7 separate regions of the Homo sapiens genome follow, and all the other regions are linked to region 2. Evidence: promoter capture Hi-C in 16 types of primary human blood cells and fetal thymus (Javierre and others, 2016). All regions are on one chromosome and are shown on one strand. Each heading gives the region's core, a stretch centred on a gene start or on the middle of the fragment in contact. The rest is flanking DNA. Distances are from core to core; before and after follow the strand shown.

The links. Contacts are between HindIII fragments. The CHiCAGO score rates a contact against its expected background, and 5 or more counts as called.
Region 1: a contact is called between a fragment that was not itself captured here and the fragment with the promoter of ELL2 in region 2, in 1 of 17 cell types (erythroblasts). The highest score is 7.1, in erythroblasts.
Region 3: a contact is called between a fragment that was not itself captured here and the fragment with the promoter of ELL2 in region 2, in 1 of 17 cell types (naive CD8 T cells). The highest score is 5.1, in naive CD8 T cells.
Region 4: a fragment that was not itself captured here is called in contact with the fragment with the promoter of ELL2 in region 2 in 1 of 17 cell types (erythroblasts); the score reaches 5.9 in erythroblasts.
Region 5: a fragment that was not itself captured here is called in contact with the fragment with the promoter of ELL2 in region 2 in 2 of 17 cell types (M0 macrophages and M1 macrophages); the score reaches 6.8 in M0 macrophages.
Region 6: a contact is called between a fragment that was not itself captured here and the fragment with the promoter of ELL2 in region 2, in 2 of 17 cell types (M1 macrophages and M2 macrophages). The highest score is 5.0, in M1 macrophages.
Region 7: a fragment that was not itself captured here is called in contact with the fragment with the promoter of ELL2 in region 2 in 5 of 17 cell types (total CD8 T cells, M1 macrophages, M2 macrophages and 2 more); the score reaches 6.3 in total CD8 T cells.

What each region holds. Positions count from the first base shown.
Region 1 is chr5:96,701,743-96,704,920 of GRCh38, forward strand. The region is part of intron 3 of CAST (calpastatin); the gene reads left to right. Among named protein-coding and RNA genes, the nearest start is that of CAST, 41 kb to the left of the region's middle. RefSeq lists a silencer at 934-1,063 and an enhancer at 1,303-1,802. The HindIII fragment of the contact is 5,929 bases long and covers 1-3,178 here.
Region 2 is chr5:95,960,287-95,963,762 of GRCh38, forward strand. It overlaps ELL2 (elongation factor for RNA polymerase II 2), which reads right to left and starts at 1,565. Exons shown (of 12, transcript NM_012081.6): 1 at 1,289-1,565. The coding sequence starts at 1,435. It overlaps LOC101929710 (a long non-coding RNA gene), which reads left to right and starts at 1,715. Exons shown (of 5, transcript NR_130776.1): 1 at 1,715-1,750. It also overlaps a transcript of CAST not described here. RefSeq lists silencers at 979-1,388, 1,459-1,698, 1,654-2,121 and an enhancer at 1,417-2,174. The HindIII fragment of the contact is 3,633 bases long and covers 1-2,811 here.
Region 3 is chr5:96,718,877-96,722,565 of GRCh38, forward strand. The region is part of intron 3 of CAST (calpastatin); the gene reads left to right. Among named protein-coding and RNA genes, the nearest start is that of CAST, 58 kb to the left of the region's middle. The HindIII fragment of the contact is 1,062 bases long and covers 1,361-2,422 here.
Region 4 is chr5:96,741,794-96,745,143 of GRCh38, forward strand. It overlaps CAST (calpastatin), which reads left to right. Exons shown (of 32, transcript NM_001750.7): 16 at 862-963. Among named protein-coding and RNA genes, the nearest start is that of ERAP1, 64 kb to the right of the region's middle. The HindIII fragment of the contact is 523 bases long and covers 990-1,512 here.
Region 5 is chr5:96,646,842-96,650,163 of GRCh38, forward strand. It overlaps a transcript of CAST not described here. Among named protein-coding and RNA genes, the nearest start is that of CAST, 14 kb to the right of the region's middle. RefSeq lists an enhancer at 1,252-1,321. The HindIII fragment of the contact is 3,268 bases long and covers 1-3,256 here.
Region 6 is chr5:96,679,616-96,683,253 of GRCh38, forward strand. All of the region lies in intron 2 of CAST (calpastatin), which reads left to right. Among named protein-coding and RNA genes, the nearest start is that of CAST, 19 kb to the left of the region's middle. The HindIII fragment of the contact is 3,608 bases long and covers 1-3,595 here.
Region 7 is chr5:96,611,863-96,615,334 of GRCh38, forward strand. The region is part of intron 4 of LOC101929710 (a long non-coding RNA gene); the gene reads left to right. It also overlaps a transcript of CAST not described here. Among named protein-coding and RNA genes, the nearest start is that of CAST, 49 kb to the right of the region's middle. The HindIII fragment of the contact is 1,613 bases long and covers 1,343-2,955 here.

The DNA.
Region 1 (3,178 bases), core at 523-3,022, 740 kb after region 2:
TGCAGTGAGCTGAGATCACGTGACTGCACTCCAGCCTGGGCCACATAGCGAGAATCCCACCTCAAAAAAAAAAAAAAATTATAAGGACAGGGTCTTCTGCTCTGGAAATGTTAGAATCTTAAAGTTGGAAGGGCTCTTATTTCACTAGATTTTTGACAGAAATAAAAGACAAAAAAAATAAGGTAGCTGTGAGGAGTACCTTGAAAGGTACATCAGAGGGCCCTAACTGCCTTGGCTGCCTGGTGGGGTACAAAGCTGTATGGATGAGTTCACCTTTTTCATGCCACTGGCCATCATTTGTCATGACTCGACACAGCACTGTCCAACCTGTCCTGAGGTCTGTGTTCCTCAAACAGTGACCAACACTACCTCCTTCACTCACACCCCAAGTTCAGGGTTCAGAGCCTTTAATGTGGTTGGTGTACGGCTTTTCATTTATTTTAAAATTTTTTATAATTATTTTCTCTAACTCTTATCATTCAATATTTATTAGTTGGCCTTCTATATGAAAGAGTGGCTTAACCCCTCTATTTATTCATTCATTTATTTACAGCAGTATAGACTCATGAATTTATATTGTATTCAATAGCTTCAAATCTATTCTAATTTTGAAGTTTGTAATATACTATAATATAAAGTAATCGGGTAGAATTCTTACTGTTAAACTACTCTTTAAAGAAATCCATTACACAGTTTTAACTGCATTTGCAAATCCCTGGTTGTAGTCATTACTAATCCACTTTATAGTTTCAAAAGAGGTCTTCGGGGGAGCATATTTGCGAAGTGCACCCACCGTCGTTGCCTTATTCTGGTAGTCACAGGGTGACAGCCGAGGGAGCGGTAACCTGTAATCAGCCGGCGGTGCGCAGCCCACACAGCACGTGGTCCGCATCACAGGCTGCGTTATTGAGTGAGCCAGTCTCCAGATGCCAGGCGCATGACGAGTCCACGGAGCGGGACCTCCCTCCCCACGCATCCCGGGCTCCCGGGGCGGGGCCGCCGGGCAGGGGGGCGGGGAGCATCCTGCGTCGCCTTCCCGGGACCGCCCCGCCCCGTCGCACTCAGAGAGCTGGGCTGGAGCTCCAAGCGGAAACCGCGGGAGCCGAGCCCAGCTAGGAATGCAGACCTCCTGAAAACCAAGCCGAGGACTGCGGGGTCCGGTGTCCACGCAGAGTGAGTACTGTCTTCCGCCGCTTTGCTCCAGGCCGCGCGTGCTCCCGGGTCTAGGGCCTGTGCCCCCGGCTACCTGCCCTGCGTGTCCGGGGCCTGGTCCCTGCAGCGGACTCCCCAGGCTCGGGACGTGCGCTTTTCCTACTATCGCGACCCTGGCGATACCGTGCGTTCTGAGTTTAACTGTGTTTCTTGGCGACTCCTCCTCCTTGTCGGTAACACTGTTACTGCCCCTTCCGCCGGGAAATGTATCTGGTGACCGGACGCGTAGGGTTACAAAACAAGGGATTTGTGTGGCCCGGTACAAGTGGCCCGAGACAAGTGGCCCGAGACAAGTGGCCCAAAAGAAGGAAAGCAGCAGCTATGTCAGTTTGGTTTGGCACCTTTATCTCTAGGGTTGGAGATAGATCTCCTCCTCCCCAGCCGTGCCGCCACCCTGTGATGACCTCCGTTTTAGAGCGTGAGCTCACTCTGACCTTTCTGCGTACCTGATACATGCTGGGTGTGGCGTGGCAAGTGTTGTAACCTGTTTCGGTTCCATTTCCTTTACACAACCTGAGACGGTTGTAGAATAACATCACTGAGGGTTACTTTGTGTCTATCTTTTAAGAATACAAAGTGTTTTCACAGAGATTTAACTTTCTCTTCTGTATGGTTAGGGACCCGGCATTCTCCACTTACACACAGGCAGGGGGAAGTTCTTTATTCCCATTGTACAGCTTCAGAAAATGAGGCAGAGAGTTTAGACAGCTTCCCTAAGGATCGGGACTTTGGGGCCTCTCTAGTTTTCTAGGAAACCACCTATGCATCAGAATGACAGAAATGCTTAATCAGCAGCTCTGGAAAGTTCCTGCTGTTTCACATGTTTTTCAGAGGAAAAACCTCTGCATTGCAGGGAAGCTCAACAAGGAGTGGCATCTACTGTTCAAAAGGGGAAAGTCTATTTCCTAATCAGCACTAGAGTTTATATTAATATAGATTGCTTCTTTCTGATGAATGTATTCGACTTTTGTGCACTGATTTTTCAGTATCTAAAAGGAATATTGAGTTGTTGGGAATATGCTGGGGAGGGTGTGCTGCTTGGGTTCTAGGAGGCAGTATAGGATTAAAATGAAGTAGTGAAATTTAGCAAAATCTTGCTGAACAAGGAAAGGCCACACCTGTAGACTGATGGAGAAGGAATAAGCCACCTATAGCAATGAGGCTGACTAGGGATCCCGTGTGTGTGCAGCAAGGACTCCTGGTGTCTATTACGAATCAGCATGCTTTGTAGACTGTGAAACAGTGTTTATGAAGCAGCACATTCAAGTATAAATATTGGCTGTGGTTCAGTTCAGATGCTTTGAAAGAAGAGTCCGAATGCCAGAGAGTAGTTGATTATATAGAATTAGTGGGGAGTTTTGGTTCCTTGATTATTCTCTGGCAGAATTGACTAAGTATAACATCTGTACTGCAATGAAAACATAAAAGCTAGTACGTAAAGTAACAGTTTGAAAGAATGAAACCAGAAAGAAAAAGAAAGCATTTTCTTTTCATTTGAATAACTTCTGAAAATCAGCTGAGTATTTATGTTTCTATTCATTGTTTATAATCACAGTTAACTTTAAGTGATCACTACTTCTTAGGTGGAAACATTTACTTTTTCTCAAAATATGAACTGTCTTAATTAGTCCTATTCAAATAAAAACTCCATAACCCATATTCTTCTATGTTCATATATATCTTTGTATCTCCTCTTTCATTATACCTTATAATTCCCTCAATTTGGAGATCATACGAATCTGGGATATCTGTTTTAGCATTGGTGTGTCTAACCTCATAAGAACATATCGCATAGTTTTTCTGATACATAGAATTAGCAATCTGCTTACTAGAAAATTACAGGAGGTCTTCATGAACATTGCATTTAATTTTTTCTCTATGGACGCTCTTGACTTAAAAATGTCATCTTAATGTTTCTCAAAAGGCATAGTCTTGGCATTTTGGGTGACAATTCTGAATTAGATAG
Region 2 (3,476 bases), core at 315-2,814:
TACAGGTTCCCCCATATGGCATATCCCTCCCTCACGCGATGTATCCACTCCGGTCTCCCACAGTACTGCATGTCCATAAACTGTTTCCCCATGCACCCTGGTTACCGCGTCCCTTCTCGGTGCTTCCCTGTCTCTCCCATTTTTTTTCCAACATGAAAGCGTCTGGATTTGTAGTCCAATTACAGTGTATGTGCGCCTATCTGAGCCTCTCTCTGTACTGGAGGGGTGTGTGTGTATATGTGTGTGTGTGTGTCCATGGGCTTCTCTCGAAAACGAGGGGTGAGAGGCCCGAGTCTCTGCCCGGGATGCATTGTATCCTCCCCACACCTTCTGGCTCTGGCTCGTTCCCCGTTTACACTTCCCAGAGTCAGCCCAAGACGCCGGGAGCTTTTTCGGGTACGTTGAGCGTCCGTGAACCTCTCTCTCCAGAACCCGATGTCTTGCTCCCGGGGAGCGCTAAGTGTGCGTGAGTCCTCAGGTCTCTCCCCAGGGCACTGTGTTGGTTTGTGTCCGTCCTGGACGCGGCGCGTCTCCAGTAACGCGATGCGCCGGTGTCCCGGAGTCCCTGGGAATGCAGGTGTGTCCCCTCCCCCCCCGTACGCGAAGCGCCAGTGTCCCCGCCGTTCCAGTGTGCGCCGCCCCCTTACACGGACTGCCTAAGTCCCTATCTCTATGAGTACACCGTGTGCCCCTCACCATGCGCCCGAGTCCCCATCCCTTCGAGCACACAGTGTGTCCCCTGATACGTGGAGCGCCTGTGTCCCCAAGTCCCTGGGAATACAAGGTCCCACCCCCACACGCGGAGCGCCTGTGTCCTGTCTCTGAGGATCCACCGTGCCTATGTAACTGGAAAACGCGGGCAGCTGGTGCCCGCGAGTCGTCCCTGGTTCCTTGCCCATACGCTGCTCGCTACCCTCCTTCCCCGCCGAGGGTAGCGTGGTCATCTCACTTCTCTTATCGGGGCCTCTCTCCCTCCTTGGGACCCAACAAGCCAGGAAATCCTCGGGGGCCGTCGGAAAGTCCCGCAGCGGCAGCGCAGCCGACCCAGGGCTGCGGCTGCCTCGGCCCCGCCGCCAGGGGCCGCCCGACTGCCCGCTTCCCCAACGCCCAGGCTAGCCCGGGACCGCGGCGTCAGCCACCCTGCCCGGCCCTGCCCTGCCTGGCCGCTGCGGGCGCTGACGGTAGCAGCTGCCAGCCACGGCTCCGCCGGCCCCGCACCCGGGCGCGGCCAGGCCGTGAGGGGTGCGCTCTGCCTCTCTGAGCCCAGCCTGCCGGCCGGCCCGCTCACCTTGTGGCTCTGGTAAGTCTCGAGCGCCCGGATCGCCGTCTCGGTGAGCTTCACATGCAGTACGGTGATGTTGTCCTGCCCCAGCCGTCCGCACGACAGCCCATAGCGCTGCTCCTCCCGCAGGCCCCCTGTCCCCCCCGCCGCCATCTTAAACTCCCCGGGGTGCCGCCGCCGCCGCCGCTCCGGCTCTAGCCTCCACTGCGGCCGCGGCTGCTTGGGCTTCTGCAGCCGCCGCCACTGCTAGGGCCATCCCGCTGCTGACGTACTGTCATATACTGCGCGGAGCCAGACCTCGGACTGCCACCGCCGCCACCCGCCCCACCCTCCGGCCCCGCGCCCCGCCCCGGGCTCGTCTCATTGGTCTTGTTCCCTTCAGAACCGCCCTCATCGGCCGCCCTCCACTCTCACGGGGGCGGGCCCAAAGTCACTAGAGTTTTGCTCCTGGGACGGGACGTCCGAGAGGTAAGAGGCTGACGTCTAGGTGACGCGCCAACTTAATCATGTCTGACGTCACGTCTGGTCGTCTTGGCTAGCCGGCCGAGATTGGCCAGGCTGGCTTGGGGACTCCCCTGCTAATTGGAAGTCCAGGTTGCCTGGTCTGGTTACCTGGAGTTGGAGCCCCGCCCCTGTGGGGGATAGTAGTGAAAAGTCAGAATTGGGGAATCTCGCCCTACGCGGGTGGTCCTTGGAGAGGAGGATCTCCACCTCCACTATGTAAGGGGATGGCCGTGACCAAATAAGGACTTTGTTCCCCGACGGCTGCGGAAGCTGTGGAACTTGGTGCGTGCGTGTGGGGGAGGACGCAGCAGGAGGACTCGCTAGAGAGCTGCTCCTCAAAACTCCTAGTACTGTAGTTGAGCAAACGGCATTGGGAGGAAACTGCTCACTCTAAACTTGAAGTTATCGGGTGCCACACGCAGAGCTTATAAAAACAAAAACAAAAACAAAAACCCTTGAAATTAGTGAGTCGACTCTTAGATGTAGGAGTTGTGTTAGATCTTGTGGAGCATCTTAAGGACAAAATCACGCGGGAGGTTAAATGCCTTTCGTATGGTGGGCATGGTATAATAGAGAATTGAGCTTCGAGGTCTTTCCTACGCCATGCCCTGTTGTGATTCTCTGGGATCACAACTGGTGGGGATGATATCTCCTTAAAAAGGACTCTAGAAGAAGAGTAAAACTGGCATTGATCTAAATTAAAAGAAACCTCGACAATTCTCATTCTCTAATTCAGTTTGAGTATTGTCCTTTTTATTTGATAGGGCTGTGTGAAAACCTAGCTAGGGTTTAAAGGTAAGAGGCTGTCGAGGTTAAGCGAAGGAGATGGGGGCGTGAGGGGCGTGCAAAGGCCTGGCATACTTTCCATTCCATCCACAGGATGCTTCCTGTGTAGGCGTGGCTAAAAGAGGGAGCCTAATCTGGAGTCCCTTTCAGATTGTGTGTGGATAGACTGACAGATGGGTTCCTGTCAGAGGATGGATTAATTGGTTGATCAGAAACACCAGATAAAACAAACCATTGAAAGCTTTCAAACTGTTGAAAGGCAGTTTAAAAAAGTTCTTTTAATAAAAAAACTGAGACGCTTGTTTTTACCCTCAGCTTATAAAACCATGTTCTGTTCTACTGGGATTCCCCGGGAAAGTTTATAGATATTTAATCAGTATTTTTCATTATTTTAAATGGATTAGGGCCATGATTCCATGTCCTCCCCTCCCAATAAATGCCTTCCCCACCGTACGGGTACACTCCTTTTTGATTCAGACCTTCAAACATAGTAGGTGTATAATGTGAATTACAGAATGAATTGGATTAAGTGGAAACACCTGTATTAAGTGTTACTCCATCACAGGAAAACAGTTTGTAAATTGACTTAATTTCAATCCACTAAGATTGGCTAGCTGTTAAGACGTGATTAACGCTTGCTAATTTCATTTACTTTAGTGATACAGTGTTATCTTAAATTCATGTAGTAGAGATATTAAGGTAATCATCAAATTGGATTAAAAAGTTTACTCTTAGAAGGGAAATAGAGGCTTTACTACCTAGTTTTCTCCGCTTTCCAAAAGTAGAAACCTTATTCAAATAGTTCATCTCTAAGCGGACTATAATCTAAAAATAATTCTGTACTTGAACTTTTCTTTTCTCTCTCTCTTTTTTTTTTTTTTTTTTTGATAGTAAAGGACTGAGC
Region 3 (3,689 bases), core at 642-3,141, 760 kb after region 2:
AGAATTCTGACGCATCCGATGCCCCACTCTGTGCCAAGTTCCGAGCCAAGCCAGCTGCGGTCAAGGGGAGAGATCACGGGGAGGCTGAATGGCTGGAGGGGAGGCAGAGAGGATTCCTGTAATCCAGTGGGAGGTGCCTGGCAAGAGGCCAGGAGGACGTGAAGGGATTCTAATGTGTGGTAGACAAAGAAGTAAGGAGCTGAGGGAATGATTGTTCCATCAGCTACATGTAGTGGCGCAATGGATGAGCCCGCATCCTAGGAGCCCCCTTCCTCTGCCCCTGCTTCTATAGAAGCCCTTACCTTCCCATCCTGGCTCACTTGCCAGGACCTGCTGGGGAGCTCAGAACCCTCCCTACTCCCATCCAGTCTCACAAGACAGTTAAGTGAGCCTCCCACCTCAGCCTTCCAAGTAGCTGGGACTACAGGCGCGTGCCACCACACTCAGCTAATTTTTAAATTTTTTGTAGAGACAAGGTCTCACTACATTGCCCAGGCTGGTCTCCAACTTCTGGACTCAAGCTGTCCTCCCATCTCGGCCTCCCGAGGTGCTGGGATTTCAGGTGTGAGCCATTGCACCCATCTGTACATTGCTTTTTAAATAATAATTGTTGAATAGGCGGGTGAGTGGAGAGTAATTTCTATTAAGGAACTTTTCTCTGCTTCTTGTTACTCTGACTTGTGCCTTAATTCAAGTTTATAAATGATTACTAATATTTGGGATATTAAGATAGGTACATGGGTCATTTGGGAGGGGTAGTATTTTGATAGCAGCACTTTATACTCTGATTTACAGTATTAATTCTTTAGAGGTATTTTGGTGTATATGAGCACTGATGGTTGTGCTTTAAAATTGGCAGCCCGTTGATGTTAGCAGGACCAGCCAAGTGGCAGGCACTGCAGTAGAGGGACCTGGGTTAGAAGTCAGATGGCCAAGCTCCCAGGCCTGGCGTACACAGCTCGGAGGGTCCTCGTGCAGAGAGTGCTCCTTTCCAGCCTGAGCGATCCCTCCTTATCCTCCAATCACCGCATGACAGGTCACATTATCAGAACTGCCTGTCTCAACTATCCCCTGAACTGCTATGGTTCCCTCATCTACATTCTCATGGAACCCTGTGAGTTTCCTTTGTAGCAAATAATTGTTGGGAGTGATTATTTCTACTAATGCCATCTTTGACTAGGCTATAGCTTTCATACGGGCAGGGACATGCCTACTGGTTTTACCTCTGTGTCCCCAGCACCTGACACAGTACCTGGCACAGAGCATATTCTGGATAAACACCTGGGGGAGCCAATGAACTCTGGTAAAATCTTGGACATGAGATTCCATTTTTCTCACCTGTTTAAAGCCTGTATATTAAAGCTTGTATTAAACTTTATCACTAAGGTGCTTTCTCTTTGAAGATCTATGGATTAACCCTTCACAATTTTTTATTATAAATGTTATCCACATCAATGATACGAAATTCAAACAATGCAAAAGAGTATACAATGAAAGTGTATTCATTCATTCACCAGAGATTACAAATATTGAAAGTTGCTTGTCTTTACAGAGAGAATAAAAATTGAACAAGCTGTAGCCAGAATCGAATGGATTAATAATGGGGTGGGCATATTCCCTACTTCCAGCTCCCATGAAGCAGCTTTCATATTTCAGTTTTAAAATGGTTAGTGCCTTAGTGAGGGAAGAAAACTTTCATGCAGTAATCTGTGCTGCCAACAGGGGCCAAGGCCCTCAGCTAAATTCCCACTACACCCTGCGCCATTGCTGATTTTCAGCTGTTCTGTATAGAGATTTTACTGTTCATGGGGGCCCTCTGAAAGTTTTCTCCTTTCTGGAATTTGAGGATCACTTCAAGGTATTGTTTAATAAAGTAACAAGGCAGGCTGGACAATTCAAGGCAATGTGATTTTATGGATGATTTAATACATTTGGATGTGTGGAAAATATGTCTACCTAAAGATTTTCAGCTTCAGAAGCACTTTCACATAGAGTGTTTGGTTTCTGTGTTGGTGTTGCATGGTTGAGGGGAATCATTAAAGGAATGGAATGCAGCTAAGTGGAATTTCTTGAGTTTGAATGGAAATCTGTATAATCAATTCCAATTATGGAAGGATAGAATTACATAAATACAGGGACATTAAGCACCATAATGTTTTAAAATATTTTCAAGGAAAAATATGGATATTCATATATTTATCCATTAATTTGATAGAGGGAAAATCTGTCTTGGTACATCTTACAGTTTTCAGTACCAAAAAGAATATGAGAGAGGCCCTTCCATGCCCTGCTACAGTGACTGGGGCTTCTTGTATGTGTGCGTGTGTGTGTATTTTGGTGGAAGGGAGTGTCCAGTTGGTGCCTAAGGGTTCTCAGGAATAGTTATGTTTATATGATTATTTTTGAAAAATAAGTATACTAAAGCTTTGGATTTCTGTCTGTAAATTATGATAGTTTAACTACAAGCATCAATGTGTTCTGCATTAACTGAGGTTTGTGGGGAAGGTGATTTTGTTCATGGGCCATAGACTATAGTGGGTTTCATACAATCACCTTGAGTGGTAGTGTATTGGGGGTGGGGGAAGGTAAGGGAGAAGCAGGAATGGGCTCATGCTGCCCTGTGACTCAGCCTCTGAAGTGGCTCTGGACCAGGCATTAGGGACACAGTGAGGTCCATCTTACAGGCTTCCTTCCCTGGGTGTTGTTGGCAGGGTAGCAGCTGTTTACTGACAGTCAGTTACTTAAGAAGGCAGCTCATGCCAGATGGAATCCCTGGGTTCTAAAACCTAATGGACTTTAAGTGTTAAGGAGGTTTAAATGAGTCTGGGTAGGAGTTTGCAAAGATTATAATTATCTGTTTAATATTAACCAGTGTAATACAAGTTAAGTACTAGAATAGTACTCCAAACCATACAAGTATCCACACACACATCCCAGTACTTAGATGACTGGATCACAGGGGCTGATTGCACCACTGCAAGCATCTCAAGGAAGGGTGTTCCTTGAATAGTTACTATTTATCACCTCTTGCCTTCTAAGGAAGAGCCTAGATGAGACATAATGCAGTAGAATTCCCTCTGTAACCTTGTCTCCACCTTCTCTTTCTTACATGACACTGAACGGACAGTTCACATCCACCCAAGTCTATTTACGGGAGTTTTGTCCTTCTATCTTATGTATTAGGAATAACACACTGGCAATTTAATGAGCATCTGCAATTTGCCAGACATTTTGCCACACTATCTCAAATACGACCCTGCAAATAGATGTTACTGTACTTTGTATGTAAATGGACCTGGAAGACAAAGCTCAAAGTCACAGAGCTTGTAACTGACAGAGCTGGGGCTTGAACAAAATTTTGTTGAGTTGCAAAATCCATGTTTTTTCTGAAAATAACATAAACAGTAATTATAATAATATTTACTGAGCATTCATTATGTGCCAGGGAGTAATTCTAATAATAAACTTACAAGGTAGTTGTTAACTACTAAAGAAAAATTGAGGTTGGGAAACTGGAGATTATAAAATTTAAGTATCTTACCCGAGATTGTTTAGTAAATAGCAGACCCAAATTTTGAACCTATTTGATCTGGTTACAAAGGCTTTCACTACTGGACACCACCTCCTACTAGATTTTTGTGCTCTAAACTGGGTAAAACCAAGGTAAAGGGCCAAGGGCAGTATGGTTA
Region 4 (3,350 bases), core at 1-2,500, 780 kb after region 2:
TGTCTCAGTCATCATCTAAGACCATCTCACCATTATGATACACAGAAGGGCAGAAACCAGAGAAATTGCACTCTTGGAACATAAAACCTTCAAGTTTGATTGTATAAAGGACTTTGAGCCCTGAGGATCACTAGAGGGACACCAAGTAGCTGGTACTGCCCAGCATTCTCAACTATATTTCACTATGACATAATTCTCACAAATCGCAAAAGGCAATCCTGCAGCTCTGTGCTGGCTGGGAACACATGTCTCCTCTGCAAACAGTCAAGATAATGCTCAGGAACGGTTTCTATCAGAGCAGCTTGTGCCTCTCCCCTCCTGGAGTGGACAGTTTATTTTTATCTGGCAGGCTGGGGAACAGTGGTGAGTACCACACCCCTGAGAGTGGGAGTTCCTACAACGATCAGCCATTGTGCCTTCAGAGAAGAAGGCAGCAGGGGCCACTTCAAGCTTCCCTGCTTCCTAAGCTTAGGTTGTCAGAAGCCTTTTTAGAGATACATTTTTAGAAAAAGAAAAATAGTGTGGTAACAGTTTACTACTTGCTTCTTTTTTTTTTGTTTGTTTAGAGTATTTTATAGTAATATTACTATAGCTTTATGTCTAGCTTACCAAATAAGGGGTGAAGTGTGCCCCAGAGAACGCTGTTACTGTAGAAACGTGTCTTAGCCCCAATTTCCACTCATTGGTAAGTTCTTTTTCCTTTCTCTCTTTTGCAAGGTTTCAAATAAAATTGCCTTTCTAGAGCACTTCCCCAATCCATATTCAGTTTATAATCTAAAATGTATTTTACAAAGAAGTAAATGGATTGTTCGGGCTCCAGAGATGTCTTTTTTCATGCACAGGATTTTTTACTTTTAACAGGATACAATGAGTGATCAAGCACTCGAGGCTCTGTCGGCTTCACTGGGCACCCGGCAAGCAGAACCTGAGCTCGACCTCCGCTCAATTAAGGAAGTCGATGAGGTACTGACCTTAGAGTTGATTTACAAAGCTTGTTAGTCTGCACATTACAAAACCGAATGCACTCTGCATGTTTAGAATTCTCGCACAACTTTTATTGGAGAGTAAAAGTGAGCATTCTTCATTGTGCCTTATTTATTGCTGAGTGGTTAGCAACTAAGGGGGATAGTTACATGACTGACTTGTGAAACAGCTAGAATTTTAACATTTGAAATGAACACGAATCTCCCTTGCTAGAGCTTAAATGACCCTTGACTAAACAAGGTAACAAGGAGGCAATGCCTGGTGGGAAATAGTGAAGTTTGGCAATTGGAAATTTGTATTTTCAGAAGGGTTCTGGGTGCTTCTGTTTATAAGAGAAGGAGATGTCTATACACGGAGTGGGAAGATCCTTCATTTATCACTATGGGGAAAGATGTTGAAAATTTTGTCTCAAATTAAAATCAAGCAACAATTACCCTAACTAGAGCTCCTGCATATTTATAGAATAATGCTGATGAGTGTTTATCCCGCCACACTCCAAGATCTTAACAAGCCTTCTGAACCAAAACAAGCTTACATCTGGTGTACGAAAGTTTTAATATTAAATTATAATTTTTGTGGAATTTTTCAACTCAGTCCTCTGGGGTGAAAGAGGAAGGAAAGGAGAGAGTTGCCGGTTCCTGACAAGGCAGTGTTGTGGGGAGATGGAAAGGTAGCCTGGGATCCCCAGGAGCCCGCCCCACCTCCATCAGCTCAGGCTGGGGGTGCTGGCAGGCATTGCTGTCACAATGCCCCATCTCTGCTGTCACTTCCTGTTCTGAGTCATCAGGGAAGGGGAGTCTCCCTGACTTCCAGCAACAATCCTTGAGTCTGGGACTGCCCTGGCCTAAGATGGGCCAGTTTCTATCTTCGACTTTCTTGGAGGGCTCACCGGCCACAGTGTGGCACGATAAGCTTTGTGACGGTGAACGCAGAGGAGCAAGAGAAGCAGTTCGTATCTTCCAGGACCAAGTAATGTATTGGGAAGAAGGGAAACTTGATTACAACACAATGTGAGATATACATTACTTAGAGTAGCCGACAGAAGCAGTGTCATCTTGAGGAAAGCGGGGTGTTGGCAGAATCCTGGGGGGAGTCAGGAGGCCAAGCTGAGTTGTGGCTTTACCACCTGAGGGCGACAGGGCCACAAGTATATTGCACTTCTGCCCCAAGCTTCTTACAGACACTTAAGGAGAGACAATTAATGTGGGAAGGGAGGGTATAAACATGTCATAAACCTCAGGATCAAAGGAGTCTTAAAAGTGACTAAAAGCAGATAAGCAGATGTTAAGAAAAAAAGTGACATAAAATAAGTTATTTAAACATGTGGGTAACTAGTTTGGGAATGCATATGAATGTATTAAGTTCCCTCTAGAAAACTTCAGAGTCGCAGCAAACTAAAATTCCAGCAAAAAGAACTCCTCTTTTCCACTCTTATGACATAATAGTTGTATTAGTCTGTTCTCATGCTGCTAATAAAGACATACCAGAGACTGGGTAATGTATAAAGGAAAGAAGTTTAATTGACTCACAGTTCCTCATGGCTAGGGAGGCCTCATAATTACGGTGGAAAGTGAATGAGGAGCAAAGTCACGTCTTACATGGAGGAAAGTAAAAGAGCATGTGCAGGGGAACTCCCCTTTATAAAACCATCAGATCTAGTGAGAATTATTCACTATCATGAGAACAGTACAGGAGAGCTCCGCCCCCATGATTCAATTACCTCCCACTGGGTCCCTCCCACGACACGTGGGAATTATGGGAGCTACAATTCAAGATGAGATTTGGGTGGGGACACAGCCAAAGCATATCACTAGTTTTCCTTTTTAATCATATACAAAGTATGAATGTTTCTAAAGAGGATCTTTCAGTCCTCTAGATTATTAACCTGAATTCTTAGTACCCGACTTAGTGGGTCCTTTACATCCTAGATAGTCTGATGTGATGAGAAGGCTCAGGAAGGTCACTGTCAGCCTGTAGGAGTGTCCACTGCCACCCCAGCATACCCCAGAATAGAGAGCTATCTGTGGAAAACCACACAATACTCCAGAGAGGAAACCCATGCCTACTTGGTATTCCCATCATCTACCATAACATAAAATAAAAGTTTTTTATTCTCTAATGATAGCCCATTATAAGTCTCCCACATTTTTAGGTGTGGCTGCCTAGTCTAGTGCCATTTCAATTCAGTAGGCTCTTTTTTTTCGATGCCTACTGTATACAAACCAGAGCAGGCATTTCAAGACTATAAAGATCAAAGAGGAAAATAAAAGCTCTGGCCGCATGTGTAACTTTCACTGTCCACAGCCTGAGATTAGTGGGGAGGACCGTCTTAATACAGGTGACCCTGGATGTTCATGAAGGCCGCT
Region 5 (3,322 bases), core at 373-2,872, 690 kb after region 2:
AGAATCTCTAGAATTTCCAGTTCTTTTGCTGAAGTAACTTGTACTTCTAGAAATCACTTAGCCAAACGATAGGAGGTGAAGGTGAAACTGTTACTGATGCCCAACCTCTCTGTTGCGGACTACCAAATGAAAAGTTGTAATGAATATACCATCTCCCATTTCACCATCTTCTTGAATCATTTTGAGGCTTGGATTATTTTTGTTTCTATAAGTGGCTTGACTTTTCTGCTGGGAACTGCTGGCATGTTTGTGATGGAGTTAGGGGCACTGGCTTGTTGGGTGATTTGTTGCTGCTTAGTGACATACACGGATCGGAGGAAACAAAAACCCCAACTCTCCCACAGCTCCATTTTCCACACCTGCAGTCTCAACCGGAGTCCTTAGGTTTCGGTATATCGTTTTTGTTAATTACATCCAATCCAGACTTCAAAGGCATTGGTTGTACAAGATCATACACTGAGGATGACTTGTTATTCAAATTAACACCTAGTACAGTTCTGTGGTAAAAATAGCCTTGTTGCAAGGAAGTTTCCTTGCTTTGTAAAACCGTTTTAGATTTAATAGGATTTTTACCTATATGAACCTTCGATTATACCACCTTGTGCTGTTCTAGCCAGTATCACTTTTTATGATTAGATCAGTTTCCTTTTTCTAAGTGTTATGAGTTGAAATGTGTCCCCCCAAAATGAATATGTTGAAGTCCTAACCCCATACGACCTTATTTGGAGATAGGGTTTTTATAGAGGTAATCAAGTTAAAATGAGGTCATTAAGGTGGGACGTAATCCAATATGACAGATTTCCTTGTTAAAAATACATAATAAATAAATAAATAAACTAAACTGAGGCACACACCGGGAGAACACCGTGTGAGAGTGGAATTACACTGCTACAAGCCTGCAGGGAGCTAGGACAGATCCTTCCCGAGCTCCTTCAGAAAGAGCATGGCCCTGCGTGCACCTTGATTTTGGATTCGTAACCTCCAGAGCTGTGAGATAATAAATTTATGTTGTTCTAAGCCACCTAGTTTGAAGCTGTTTGTTATATCAGCCTAAGGACTCTGGATGGGAAATAATTGGACAAAAGTGAAAAAGACTCCAGTTCAAAATGAGCTGTGACTTTCTCCAATTCTTTCCTATACTAGGAAATGCCCCTTGTGAATTTGAATTCTGCTTTTGGTAATTTAGTCTGGAAAGAGTAACTGCTTTTTCAACTTAGGTTGTGTTTCCCCAGTATTTGTAGGAAGAAACACTACAATATCACTTCTCTCTGTGTGAACTCATCTATCCTTTAGGTTATATTTTCCACTAGGCTTTGGATGTTTTTACTCAAGTTGTTTCTTCTGCCTAGAATGACTTACCACCCTCTTTTTGCTAAACTGTGTGCCTTCCCCTCTTTCAAAACCCACTTTCAGAACTTGTCTGCAGATTCACTTCCTTATTGGTCTTTCTAGATTAAGTCTTTCAGGATAGAGTCACTCAGCAAGACTGTGAATGCTTTATATTGCCAAGTTTACACTCCTCTCCTCATAAACTATTTATTTCTCTCTGTATATTTAATATTTAGGTATATTTAAGTTTATATATTTAAGTTTCAGCACTTGAATTAATATATCTGTATATTTAAGTTTCAGCACTTGAATTAATATATCTGTATATTTAAGTTTCAGCACTTGAATTAATATATCTGTATATTTAAGTTTCAGCACTTGAATTAATATATCTGTGTATTATTTTTCTTTAAGTGGCAACATCTTTGAAGGAAAAGTTTTTTCAGTCAGCAAGTAATAACAAACGTAATAGTTACAATTGCTACATTTATGAGTACTTAGTACCTCTGCATTGTGAAACTGGGAGAAGTTTTATTTATATATATGCGTGTGTGTGTGTGTGTGTGTGTGTGTGGTGTAATAAGACACTCGTTCACAGTCACACAGCTAGGTAGTGGCAGAGCCAGGAATTCATTCCAGGCTGAATTGATTCTGAAGCCCTAGCTCTGAGACGCCTACTCAGTAAAGATGGTCCATTCACCTGACTCCAGCTAATAGGTCAAGGACTTCATCTTGCTCACAGATCTACCCCCAGGGCCTGGAATACTGTCTGGCACATGGTGGATACAGGATTCATGTTTTTGTTGCATAAACAGTCTGTAGCTCTGTCGATGTATGGCTATATTAATAGGAATAGAGGTACTCATAGGGCAAGACATGTCTTTTTAAAAATGTTAGCTCAAACCATATAAAATTGCCTATATTCAAAGTTTTTAACCTACAGAGATGGCAGTTTCATGCTGTTCAATCTTATACAATTGCCAAAAGAATTTAAAATTAATAAAAGATTCAGTCTTTTGCTGTTAGATTTGTTTTTAAAAAGTTTTTTCATGTCAGTGAGCCTCAGACTCCCATTGCAGCCCTTGGTTTCTGACAAGGACAATAAATTACTGTGTTTCTGTCATTATACAGTCTCAACACAAACATGTGTTCCTGGCATCTGTCTGACATTGCAGATGTTTTCTTTTAATAAGCAGGGTTAAAGTTCTTCTCTCATGAAAGAATTTTGCTATTCACATAAGTCGAATAATGAGACAGCCCTGGGAATGTAACCTCTCCCAGGATCCATTGTTTGTCATCTTCTCGTAAATATTTGAAGTCAACGGGCCTGATTTCTAACTCTCTTTCATTGATCTGCTCTCTGGCCCTCTGCCACCTTGGATCAAGCCACCTTTGCCACCTTGGTTTCCCCATTGATCAATCATTCTGGGGCTAGTGGATAAGTCTGTTGAAAGAGTCATAGAACTGGATTCTAGTTTTCCACCAGAACTAGTGATGTAACTTTGACCCAATTGAGCAGTCTCTGAACTGTTTCCTAAATAATAAAATGAAAATTATGTTCATCCTGCATCATCACAGGTTTATTGTCGGCATTCAAACTGTAAAATACCATTCAAATGTAACATGTTCCTGTTAGAGTTGCATTTAAACTTCAAGTCACAGAGGCAGTAAAGATTAGTCAATCCTTGGTGTATATAATGAGTTAGGTAATACTGTAATGACGGTAACACAATAGCTAACAGTCATAAAATTTTCTCTCTGACAGACACTATTCTAAAAGTTTTACTTGGATATTCTCACATAATCCTTATAGCAACCTCATAAGTTAGATATTATTCTATCTCTATTTTACAGTTGAAGAATCTGAGTCAGAGAGATTGAATAAATTACACAGTGAGGAAGTGGCAGAACCAGCCCTTTGCAGCCAAGCTTTCAGCCTGTGGTAGACACATACAATGCTCATCAAATACCCATGTGTTTCCTTTAATTTCCT
Region 6 (3,638 bases), core at 542-3,041, 720 kb after region 2:
ACAATGGATTTATTTTTATGAGTAAAGAAAACACAAATAAAAGCGAACGGAAATTCTGCCTTAAAGGAAAAGATGTTTTTTTACATTTTCCTTACTCTAATGGCATTGGTGGCATGCTTTTCCTCAGTGTTTACCTCTCCTCCTTTTAGAATGCATGAATTCAATGTTGAATGACTCAAACATTTTTTTTTTACTTTTTTCTTTTAATAAAGTTAGACTTTTTTAATCACAAAAGTAATACATACTTGTGAAAAACAATATTACCCTGAGTCTTACCGCTTAAACTACTGCTCTAAACTTGTGTGTATATACTTAAATTAACGCGATAATGTCATGTATTTATAATTATTATATATGCCAATTTTAGTACTTTTTAATGATTGTGTAGCTAAAATATAATTATTGGAAAAAAATTAGAAAGTACCAGAGAATTTAATGAAAATAAACACCCTTGGCCAGGCGTGGTGGCTCATGCCTATAATTCCAGCACTTTGGGAGGCTGAGGTGGGCGGATCACAAGGTCAGGAGTTCAAGACCAGCCTGGCCGATATGGTGAAACCCCAACTCTACTAAAAATACAAAAATTGGCCAGGCGTGGTCGTGGGTGTGGGCGCCTATAGTCCCAGCTATTCGGGAGGCTGAGGCAGGAGAATTGCTTGAACCTGGGAGGCGGAGGTTGCAGGGAGCCAAGATCACACCACTGCACTCCAGCCTGGGCAACAGAACGAGACTCTGTCTCAAAAAAAAAAAAAAAAAAAAAAAAAGAAGAAGAAGAAAAGAAAAATGGAAAATAAACACCCTCATCTAGGATTCTAGCACCTAGAGAAATGGGCACTATGTACATCTTGGTGTATTTTCCTGCATCTTTTTTCTTTGTTTGCTTATTTTGTTTACTGAAATGCTGCATATCTTGATTTTTAAGCAGAAATAGCAAAGGAACACCATTATAGGGCCTAGTCTGAAAATGATAAATAATGTGCTTTGTGATAGATAAATCTTTTCCAATTAAAAAAAGACCCATCAGTGTGTGTGGCATTTAAGTATATAGAAAACCATTATTCAAGCACCTTGGCATTCAGTATGGCATTTAATGTTCATTATTTTGTGCTCTGTTTTTGAAGGGAGGAGAAATTTACTTCTTATTCAAGAAGTAATTTGTGACAGTGTTCCCACAAGTGATTTAGCTGTCATTAGCAAGTTCTAGAAGAGTACTGCAGCAAACATTTTAACATTCTTTTATGTCATGACAAGAGAGTTCATACTAGTTGTGGGGAGTCGATTGTGGCTGCACAAGCTCATGTCTCAGTGCCAAGAAAAGCTAAGCCGAAAAGCTGCACCGAGGCAGTCATGCCTGGCTCACCGGGATATCTAGCCCCAAGAGGCCAGCACAGGCTCGCACTGGGTGCGACTTGGGAGCTGAGTCTGACTTGGGAGGCTAAAGTGACTCTGGGAAGTTACAAGATTCTTTTCAACTGTGGTTTCCCCATTTTTTCATTTGAAATTTTCATTTATTGTTTCATTGACCAGAGTATTTTCTAAGATATTTTTTTCAGGGAGGGAGCACAATGATGATTTTCTGAGTGTGTGAATGTAAGCATGTTTTCTCGTTGGTGACTCACAAGAAAGTCCATCAATACAAAATTGTACAACATCCTTGGGTCACAGTTTTGTTCCTCAAAATTCTGTATCTATTGCTTCGTGGTTTTCTGGCTTTTTGTGCTTCAGAGATGTCTGAGGCAGCCTACTTTTGACTTACTTTTTAGGAAGCCTATTTTTCTTGCCTTGGTGCAAGATTTTTTTCTTTTGTTCTTACAATTTAAAAATACTACCAGGATGGGCCGGGCGCGGTGGCTCACGCCTGTAATCCCAGCACTTTGGGAGGCCGAGGCGGGCGGATCACGAGGTCAGGAGATCGAGACCATCCCGGCTAAAACGGTGAAACCCCGTCTCTACTAAAAATACAAAAAATTAGCCGGGCGTAGTGGCGGGCGCCTGTAGTCCCAGCTACTTGGGAGGCTGAGGCAGGAGAATGGCGTGAACCCGGGAGGCGGAGCTTGCAGTGAGCCGAGATCCCGCCACTGCACTCCAGCCTGGGCGACAGAGCGAGACTCCGTCTCAAAAAAAAAAAAAAAAAAAAATACTACCAGGATGTACTTATATATTAATATGTGTTTTTCTTTATTAATTTGTCTTGGAATGTCTGTTATTTCATTATTTCTTTAATTATTACTCTTGTTTCGGTTTCCCTTGTTTCTTCCTAAACCTACATATGCAATAGTTCCTCTTTATCAGCTGTTTCGCTTTTCATGATTTCAGTTACCCACGGTACAATACAATGAGATATTTTGAGAGAGAGAGACCCCATCCACATAACTTGTATTACAGTATATTGCTATAATTGTTATATTTTATTATTAGTTATTGTTGTTAATCTCTTACTGTGCCTATTTTAGAAATTAAACTTTATTATAGGTATGTATGTATAGGAAAAACCATAGTGAATACAGGGCTCAGTACTATTTGCAGTTTCAGGCACCCACTGGGGAATCTTAGAATATATCCACTGCAGATAAGAGAGACTACTGTAATTCTGACATTAGACATTCACTAATCATCTGCCTCACAATTTTCTTTTGCTGACATTTACCCTTGCACTCTAGGAGAGTTTCTGAAGTTTGCCCCCCACATATTTTATTTCTAAATTCTGCTCTTTGAAACTTCTAATACAGGTTTAAATTTTGGTTTTCGTTTTTGGTTTCTTTGTGTCCCCTTCTTATCCTCTCTTACCTCTTTGTCTCACTCCATTATCATTCCATCTCAATCTATAGCTCTTTACTCCATTTCATGAAGGTAATACCATCTTGTTTCCTATCAAGGATGTACACTTTTGTCTGAATTTTCTTCTTATTCTGTATCATTTTATGAGATCTGTCTTTTTCAGTCTTCGGGGTAATGATGCCCTCTGCCTTTCTCTGTGGTGGTTTTGAGAGGCAAAATTTCTTTCTGATTACTCTTTTAAGGAGAGCTTGGCCTACTCCTAGAGCTTGTCAGCTGTGATGAGCACATTGTCCTTAGCCCTGCTCTTCATCTATGTCCCTGCTAACTAAATCTCCTCAGACCTACAGCTGTTTGGCAGGTGAATATGCACAATGCTGGTAAAATCCCCACTACCTAGTGGACTTTCATTCATTACAGAACATCCACTGTATGAAATGAGATGCAGGGAATAACTCCATTTTTTAGCAAGGATTGCTAATGCGGCTTTTTTTACCTCCACCCCCAAGAAGGCCACTTTGTACTTAGGACAACTACTCCCCCAGGTGCAGCATGCTACTGCCACACCCTGCGCACAACCCATCCTCCCACACCCTGCCCACTCCACTGAACGCACCAGATTTCTGCTTAGTTGGTTTCCAGGATTTGGATTTGGAATCTTTGACTTGGGTTAGAAAGAGAGGCACTAATGGGGAATAAAGATAGGTTGCCTCATGAAGAGGACTCCTACCAAAGAGGTTTGACTGCTAGGTTTTCTAGATGGCTACATTTCTGTGTGGAGTATGAGCATTCAGGAAAGAGGGGGTCTTTCAGGGACATAAGCTTGCTCTGTTTCAGATGCATGACACAAGTGGTTCACCAAT
Region 7 (3,472 bases), core at 899-3,398, 650 kb after region 2:
CAGGGAAATGCAAGTCAAAAACCGCATGAGACACCATCTCACACCAATCACATAGCTATTATTAAAACGTCAAAAAATAACAGATGTTGGTGAGGATGCAGAGAAAAGGGAACACCTATACACTGTCGATGGAAATGTAAATTTGTTCAGCCACTGTGGAGAGCAGTTTGGAGTTTCCTTGAAGAACTAAAAATAGCACTACAATTTGACCCAGGAATCCCATTACCATGTGTCTATCCGAAGGAAAAGAAATAGTTCTACTAAAGCTATTCCTGTACTTGTATGTTCATGGCAGCACTATTCACAATAGCAAAGTCATGGTGCCCACTAATGGTGGCTTAGATGAAGAATATGAGATACTTAGACACTATGGAATACCATTCAGCCTTAAAAAGGAATGAAATCATGTCCTTTGCAGCAACATGGATGCAGCAGGAGGACATTATCCTAAATGAATTAACACAGAAACAGAAAGTCAAATACCACATATTCTCATTATAAGTGAGAGCTAAACATTGCATGCATGTGGGCATAAGATGGGAACAATAACACTAAGGACTCCAAAACAGGGAGGGAGGAAAGAGAGCAAGAGTTGAAAAACTACTTACTGGGTACTATGTTCACTCTCTGGGTGTTGGGTTCAATAGAAGCCCAAACCTCAGCATTTCACAATATATCCACGTAACAAACCTGCATACATACCCGCTGAATCTAAAATTTGAAGAAAATAAAACAAAAACAGAGAAATCTGCACTTGTACCGGTTTAAAGAAATAAATACGTTTTAATCTAATCAAATATATCAAATCTTTTACTTTATAATTTTGGTTTACTGGATTTTGTTAATATGCTCTTTCTTACACTGAGATTATGCAAAAATTCTTCTGCATTTTCCTCAAACTTATTTTAGTTTTGCTTTAGATGTTTAGATCTCTTATCAACGGGGTAACAATTTATCTTTGTGTATGATATAAACAAGAAGTCTAAATAAATATACACACATATATACATACATACACACATATATACATGTGTAAATACACAGTACATGTAATTTTTCTCTGTGGGTAACCAATTAATGTTTATCAGTTAGCCCATGCATGTTCTATTGATTTGTAATGCCACTGCTTCATGTATCCAATTTCCAAATATGTATGAGTCTCTTTCTGAACTCTCTATTCTGTTCCACTGGCAAGTCATCCATCACTGTGCCAATAGCACACTGCCTGAACTACTATAGTTTTATAATAAGTCTTGATATCTGGTAGAGTGACCCTCTCCATCTTCTTCTCTTTCAGAATTTTCTATTCCTAGCTGTTTTCTTCCATTCAAATTTTGAAATAAGCTTGTCAAGTTCAGCAATAAAAATCCAGTTGAGGTTATAATTTGAATTGCATTAGAATAGATGGATTTGAAGATGAATGACAGTTTTCTTCTTATCCTTGAACATGGTTTCATCTCTCCTTTCATTTAAGTATTCTCGAAGGTCTTTCAATGAAATTTCATACTTTTTTCATATTTGCACATCCTTTGTTAGATTTAATACTAGGTACTTCAGATTTTGTAATACTACTATTTGTGCTATCTGTATTTTCTGTTTAAGTCTTCACAACCCTATGAGTTAGATATTTTCACGTTCATTTTCTAGCTAAGGAAACTAAGGTCCAGAAAGATTAAGTAACTCACCATGTTATCAGTAGTCAGTGATGGGGACGGGATGCAAAACAAGTTCTATCTGACCCCAAATTCTGTGTTCTTAACCTCCAATCCATACTCTGTCTTCTGATGATTGTCTTTAAAGCATTTTTAAATGAAACAACTTAAGGGTATTCAAAGGCACAAAACAACAACAACAATAGTAACTACCTATCTCCCTGGAGAAAACGTTAAGTACCTCAAACTTTATTCTCTATACAAATAACCTGGGACTTCTATTACAATGTACATCTTAATCCTGTAGGTCTGGGGTGGAGCCTGCAAATATTTAGGTATTCCCAAATGTCTTTCAATGAAATTTTATACTTTTTAAAATAATTGCACATCTTTTGTTAGATTTAATACTGGGTGCCTTATACTGTTTTTTAAATTGTTGTTCATTTATCTGCATTGTGAGGCTGGGTATCCTCACAGCCCTATGAGTTAGATGTTTTATGTCTATTTTGTAATGAAGGAATCTAAGGTATAAAGTAACTAACAATATATCATCAGCAGTAAGTGACCAGGTAATACAAATGCTGCCGGTCCAAGGAACCCCTTCCAGAACCACCACTAACTCTACAGCATTTTCTGGTGAGGAACCCTTTAATTAACATGATTAAAGGTGAGAACTCCACCAGATGGCAGCAGAAGCTCATCATTTTGTCTCAAATGATTCCATTTCCCTCTGGATGGAGTGTTAGCTGTTGGCAAATGCCTGACTCGTTAGGTTATTGCGGTGAAGTGAATCAGAATCAGGGCCTTTCACTCCTGATGCTGTGTGCAATCTTACCTACTACAGCGCCTCAGTGTTGACAAGGGATTTTCAGCAAAAGCATCCAGCCGGGACATGCCCACGAGCTTCTCCCAAAAACCTTATGGCAGGAGGCTTATAAATGAGAATGAAAACTGTTTTCCATGGGTTGCTTTTTCATCACAGTGAGTTCAATTTAGGTACTTAACCAAGAAAAGGAAACATGATTTGAAATGTTTGGCAGGGGATTAGAAGAGGAAATGATTCATTCACTGTGGGGAACGGGAAGCTATTCAGGCAGATAAACCTGAAACAGAGTCCAAAGATTCAGAGGAAATCCAAGAATAATGCCAGGGACCCACCTCCATCCAAAGCCTAGGCCCAGCCTCTCCCCAGGGGTGCCAGATTACCCCTCTTCCTCAGTGCTTTTTTTCTTTTTAAAAACTGAATATATATATATAGTTGAATTATGAAAAGGATCCATCATCTTGTACTGCTCCCACCCTAAGCTTGGTAAAATGAGGCACCTGTCACTAAGAAGGCTAATGAGTTCATTATATTCTCTTGCCTTTTAGTTACTTAAAAGCAATAATTTGGGCACTGGGGAGGCCCTCAGCGCTGCCTTGAGTGAGCTGTGAGTAGGCTTTAGCCTAGTATAGGCAGCCCCCAAATTTCAATAGTTCAACTTAAGATTTTTGAACTTTACGATGGTGCAGAAATCATATGCATTCAGTAGAAGCTGTACTTGGAGTACCCATACAGCAATTCAATTCTGTTTTTCAATTTCAGTACAATATTCAATACATTACATGAGATATTCAGCACTTTATTATAAAACAGGCTTTGTGTTAGATGATTTGCCCAACCACAGGCTATTGTAATTGTTGGAGCATATTTAAGGTAAGCTAGGCTAAACTATGATGTTCAGCAGCTTTGGTGTATTAAGTGCATTTTTGACTTACAATATTTTCTATTTCCAGTAAGTTTATCCCATCGTAAGCCAAAGAGCAGCTGTACAGGATGG